2 separate regions of the Homo sapiens genome follow, and region 1 is linked to region 2. The links are contacts of gene promoters, found by promoter capture Hi-C in blood cells and fetal thymus (Javierre and others, 2016). All regions are on one chromosome and are shown on one strand. The core of a region is centred on a gene start or on the middle of the fragment in contact, and the rest is flanking DNA. Distances in the headings are between cores, read along the strand shown. Region 1 overlaps MAU2 (MAU2 sister chromatid cohesion factor). Region 2 holds the start of HAPLN4 (hyaluronan and proteoglycan link protein 4).

What was found. Contacts are between HindIII fragments. The CHiCAGO score rates a contact against its expected background, and 5 or more counts as called.
Region 1: a fragment that was not itself captured here is called in contact with the fragment with the promoter of HAPLN4 in region 2 in 3 of 17 cell types (M1 macrophages, M0 macrophages and erythroblasts); the score reaches 7.1 in M1 macrophages.

What each region holds. Positions count from the first base shown.
Region 1 is chr19:19,353,493-19,356,337 of GRCh38, forward strand. MAU2 (MAU2 sister chromatid cohesion factor) reads left to right here. Exons shown (of 19, transcript NM_015329.4): 17 at 863-953; 18 at 1,772-1,899; 19 at 2,216-2,845. The coding sequence ends at 2,290. Among named protein-coding and RNA genes, the nearest start is that of MAU2, 34 kb to the left of the region's middle. The HindIII fragment of the contact is 5,642 bases long and covers 1-2,845 here.
Region 2 is chr19:19,261,174-19,264,073 of GRCh38, forward strand. HAPLN4 (hyaluronan and proteoglycan link protein 4) reads right to left here and starts at 1,631. Exons shown (of 5, transcript NM_023002.3): 1 at 1,557-1,631; 2 at 273-390; 3 at 1-2. The coding sequence starts at 1,559. The HindIII fragment of the contact is 10,345 bases long and covers 1-2,900 here.

The sequences.
Region 1 (2,845 bases), core at 260-2,759, 92 kb after region 2:
CATCTCTGCACTCTGGAGAAGTATCTGGTGGCGTCAAAGCCAGGTCTCAGGAGTTGGTTTTGGGGATGTGTCCATCTTGGCTTCCCAAGTGCTCCCTGGGCTGCCAGGAGCCATCATCTAGGGAATTTTCCAGGTCTTACCTGAACCCCACATCCAGGCTTACAGGGCTTTGAGTCCTCGGTCCAGACAGGGTCAGTCCAGCACTGCTGGTCGCCTGTGTAGCACAGGCTCCTGTCTGCCGTCTCCAGGCCCTTGCCATAGCAACAGGGATGGGCATTTATGGGCCCTGATGGCTCTTACTGAGCTCTTCCTGCCACATCCTGAGGATGCTAGGGCTGCAACTGGGGTGGCCCTGTGCAGTCACAAAGCAGGGAGTCCGGATTGGAGGATTCTTACATGCTGGTGCCCCCAGAGCCCCTGCGTGTCTGCGGGGGCCTCCCATGAGAGCCAACTCAATTGTGGAAGACAAACCGGAGGGGCTGCTGCCCTTCTCAGAACCTGAAACCTGGAACCCTATATGAATCTGCATTTCTGATCAGCCCCCATTGTGGGTCTAGGGCTAACGGCCATCAGTGCTTTTTCTCTGCTTGAACAGGTAGAAGCCCCCAAAGTTGTCCATTGGCCATGCCCCTGTGAGGGCATGAGCCAGAAGTGAGGGCAGTTTGTTTTTCAGTGATACTTCAGAGAGGGCCATTTGAGATGGGCTCTGAGGTAAGCATAGGAGTTCACCAGACGCAGAAGGAGGTCACAACCTGGGCTGGGTTCAGTAGGTGGGTTCCAGATTATCCCCACCCCAACCTGGGCTGGGTTCGGCAAGTGGGGTCCAGGCTCCTCACTCCCCCTTGCTGCTCTTGGTTGACAGGAGAGTAACAACATGGTGGTGCCTGCCATGCAGCTCGCCAGCAAGATCCCGGACATGTCGGTACAGCTGTGGTCGTCAGCACTGCTGAGAGGTGAGTGCAATGGCCACCCCTCTTCCCCAGCCCCAGCCTGGCCCTCCCCAGAGATCAAGGCTGCTGGGCATGTCCTGCTCAGCCTTAGCTCGGACTAGGCCTCCGTGGGCCGCAGCCCCAGTTCTAGCATGGGTAGGGGGTGCTCCTCAGGAGACCCTGGTTGAGGGCAGTGGGTGCATTTGTGGCATCCGCTTGACTCGGGGTCTGGTTCAGTCTCTATAGGACACAGAGGCTGCGACTTGGTATCTGGTAGACTTGGGCTGTTAGCCGTGGCGCTCTCAGCCTTGCTTCTTCCCGGAAAGGCAGACAGCAGCCATACCTATTGGGTAGGGCTGGCCAGCTAGCTCTGGGAGCAGGGCGGGCACTCAGCGGGTATCATTGCTGTTACCGCAGCTCCCCCATTTCCAGATTACGAAACTAAGGTCCGGAGACTCGCCTGGGGCCCTGGGGAGGTGACAGGAGACGGGGTGCTCCATGTGCAGTGGGCTGCCTGGGGCTGCTGCCTCAGGATGGGCATTGGGCGTCCTGCCCCAATGAGCGCCTGTTTGCCTGAGGGCTGGCCATGGGCTCCCTGGAGGGCTGGCGAGAAGCCTGGCATTGGGCTTTCACTGCCCAGCCAGCCCTGTTCTGCCCTATGAGGGCGGCTGGCGCATGGGCTTTGTGATCCCAAGACAGGGCTCAGGTCCAGTGACGTGCCAGGCACCCAGAGATCCACCAGTGCAGCTGGGACTTGACCTTAGGGCTCCATCTGCACCGAGTGGGAGGGCCTGGGCAGTGACAGGGCAAGGCGGGCCCCCATGCTCATGTCCCACTCTCAGACCTGAATAAAGCCTGTGGGAACGCCATGGATGCCCATGAAGCCGCCCAGATGCACCAGAACTTCTCGCAGCAGCTGCTCCAGGACCACATTGAGGCCTGCAGCCTCCCCGAACACAACCTCATCACGGTACGGGTGTGGGTGTTAGGGGACGGGATCAGGACTAGCGGGCTCCCCACCTGCAAGAGGAAGGGGCACCTTGGCTGTATTTCTCTTTTGTCCAACAAACCCTAACTCAGCCTCAGGTGATCCCTTGATGGGGGAGATGGCCATGGGCACCCCCACCCAAGCAAGGGACCCAGGTGTCTCCTCGGGGCCCATTGGACTGGGGCATGGAGAACAGAGTCCCGGCTGTGTGAGCAGCCCAAGGAAGGCAGCATTCCAACCTCTTCTTCCCTGGGAACGGTCCACAGTGCCTCACTCGCATGTCCTCTCCTCCCCACAGTGGACAGACGGTCCACCCCCCGTGCAGTTCCAAGCTCAGAATGGACCCAACACCAGCCTGGCCAGCCTCCTGTGAGGCCTTGATGGGGCCATCCAGCTCCGCAGGGCCTGCGCGTCTCCGGCTTCCACCCAGACGGCACTCAAGCCTGCCCCCGAGGCGTGCTTCCTTCCTGATTGTCTCTAGAGCTTCCAAGTCCTGGGAATGTGCGGGGCCAGTCCCTGCCCTCCCAGGAGGGGTGGTAGCCGTTCCCACCTCGCAGCAGGACCCCCAGTGCAGAGGCTCACAGGTGGCACACAGGCGCTGTCTCTCCAGAGCCATCCTTCAGAGTGGACCTCAGTGCCAGTCCTGCCTCAGCATCTGGGTCACGTCGGCCAGGAGTAGGGTGCAGGCCTCCAGCAGGTCCTAATCCTGTGTGCCAGGGCAGGCAGTGCCCCAGGGGCACCACGCCTGACTCTCCATCACCCAGGCCTTGATGCCGAGCGGGAGTAGAGTGTTTCCTCTGCTCAAGGCAATTTCCAGAGCCCGGATGCCAGTTTCTGGCCTGAATTTGGAGGGAAGAAGTAATGGCGCTAGTGTGGGACGAAGCACAGATCCCAGCACTTTTCCCAGCTTTCTCTCCAGCATCAGTCC
Region 2 (2,900 bases), core at 381-2,880:
CTCTGAGGACAACCAAGCAGGGTTCAGAGGAGGGGCCTAGGGGCAGAAGGGGGCCTCTGGGGAAGGTGTCTCTGGGGAGGGGAACGTGGGAAGACTCGGGTGGGGGTCGGGGAATCAGAAGGGTCCAGGGGCTCAGGGAGAGGGCGAGGGGCTCAGATGGGGAGTGGCTGGGGGAACCGCGGACGTCAGGAACGCCCTACCCGCTACCCCTCTCCGCACTTGGCCACTTCTGCTTTTCGCGGAGAAGACCACTTTTAGCGGCCCTGACTCACCCAGCACGTGCACGACCTTCTTCCGGCCACGCTGCGCCCCCGCAGGGGCTGTGAGCAGCAGGACGCCCCAGGCCGCGGCCCAGAGCGCGCCGGGACCGAGGGCCGCCCGAGCGCACACCTGGGGGGCGGGCACGGGGCGCTCAGTCCAGCCTCCCAGCCTTGGCTTTTCGGAGGCCTGGCTCCCTCCCGGGCCTGCCTTCCCCACAGCGAGGACCTCTCTCACGCCCATGTCCCCACCCTTTCCGGGGTCCTGGAGAACTCCCCCTCCTCCTCTTGGGACCTCACATCCTAGCTTCTGCAAGAACCCACGCCCCTAGACTCCCCCCCGCCCTCAGTCCTGCCCCAGATCCCGCCTCATTCCCCCCCACCCCAAAACCCGAGGCTCGCTGCCCCGCCCCCTTCTGGCCCTGGCCCGGGCCGGGGATAGGGGGGTGGGGAAGAGCTGGAGGAGCGGCGGCAGCAAGGTTATCCGTGCGCCAGGAGACTGCAGCAAACCGGGCCGGGGCGGGCAGGGAGGGGGGAGAGCTGGAGAGAAAGAGGGAGAGACGCGGGGAGAGAACAGGGACAGAGAGAAAGGCAGGGAGAGGCAGAGAAGAGAGTGCGCGACACAGAAAAAGGGGAAGGGAAGAGAGAGAGGCAGAGATGGAGAGGGAGAGACAGATGGAAAAGAAGAGACAGATGTAGAGGGAGAGACAGAGATGGAGAGGGAGAGACAGAGAGGCAGAGGGAGAGACAGAGGGGCAGAGGAAGATACAGAGATGGAGAGGGAAAGACAGAGATGGAAAGGGAGAGACAGAGAGGAAGAGACAGAGAAGCAGAGGGAGAGAGAGAGAGGCAGAGGAAGAGACAGAGATGGAGAGGGAGAGACACAGATGGAGAGGGAGAGACAGAGAGGCAGAGGGAGACAGAGAGGCAGAGGGAGAGACAGAGAGGCAGAGGGAGCGACAGAGAGGGAGAGGGAGAGACAGAAAGGGAGAGGGAGAGACAGGAGAGTGCCAGAGGCAGAGAGACTCAGAGAAGAGGAGGGAGAGATAGGGACAGGGAAAGACAGAAACGGAGAGGAGAGGAAAAAGGCAGAGAGGATGACAGAGATGGAGAGAGGCAGGGAGAAATGGAGAGGGAGAGAACCTAGAGTGCCAAAAAGAGAGATCAAAGAGGGTGAGAGACAGAGAAAAGGAAGAGACAGAAGAAACTCAGAGGGATATAGATTCAGAGGCAGAGAGATATAGAATCCAAGATTGGGGAGACGGGGCACACACCACCCGCGCCCGCAGCCCCACTTACCATCTTGCCCGCGCGGCCCCCGCCGAGCGGCCCCTACGCACCCGGACTGCGCTCCCCGCACACCCGGTTAAGACTGGGCAGGTCCCTGCAGGCGGCGCAATCCCGGCGTCTGCCTGCAAGGGGAGGAGGAAGGCGGGCGAGGCGGGGTGTATTAAAGGGGCCGCGGGGGCCCACGCTCCCCTGGAGCAGTGGCTGGAGCGCGGGCGGAGAAAGAAGCGCTCTGGACTTGGAGTGCAGAGCTAGTTCCCTCACCCTGCTAGCTGAACTTAGGCCAGGGAAGAACCTCTCTGAGCCTCAGTTTAACCATCTTTGAAATGGAGGAGGGGGCTGAGTCTTCTATCTTGGTTACTGTGCTTTGGCAGGGGACCTGGGGGATCTGGTGAAAGAGATCATTTGGCCTGCAGGCCACCTGTCCATTGGGTAGTCATAGTGGAGTCCTGGTCTCCAGCACCCCAAAGGCGCTCCCTGTGCAGGGTGGGGGCCTCACGATAGTCACACTCTGCTGTGGACTGGAGCCACAGGCCCCAATTCAAGTCTGCCCCTCACTGGCTGTGAGACCTTGGAGGAGACAGTTGGCCTCTCTGAGCCTGCTGCTGACTCTTTGGTGAAGATCCAGTAGCTAGACATACAGTAGATCTCCGGTAGGGGTTGGGAGGGGCAAGAAAAAGGGACATCTAGGCCGGGCGCGGTGGCTCACGTCTGTAATCCCAGCACTTTGTGAGGCCAAGATGGGAGGATCACCTGAGGTCAGGAGTGCGAGGCCAACCTGACCAACATGGAGAAACTCTGTCTCTACTAAAAATACAAAATTAGCCAGGTGTGGTGGCACATGCCTGTAATCCCAGCTACTCAGGGGGCTGAGGCAGGAGAATTGCTTGAACCCAGGAGGTGGAGGTTGTGGTGAGCCAAGATCGTGCCATTGCATATCAGCCGGGGCAACAAGAGTGAAAACTCCGTCTCAAAAAAAAAAAAAAAAAAGAAAAAGAAAAAGAAAGAAAGAAAAGGAAAAGGGACATCTGGTCAAGGTCCCTGACTTACTCCAGGCCCAAGTCGCCCCTAAACCTGGCCTTTCACCCAATTTCAAAAAATCAAACAATAGCAAACAGTGAGTCTTTCTCCTAACACCTTGGCTTCCTTCCAGGACTCAGTTTCCCCTAAAATGAGCCCAACCCGACCAGATAGGAGAGGCAGAGTTGTGGTTTCTGTGGTCCAACAGGCTGGGGCTCCATCTCTTAGCTCAGCCATGCCTTGGGGACTGAGCGGGGGAATGATCTCAGACCAGGACCTTCACCTCCTGCAGCCTTGGTTTCCCCATCTGGAATATGGAGTGAGATCCAGCATGTA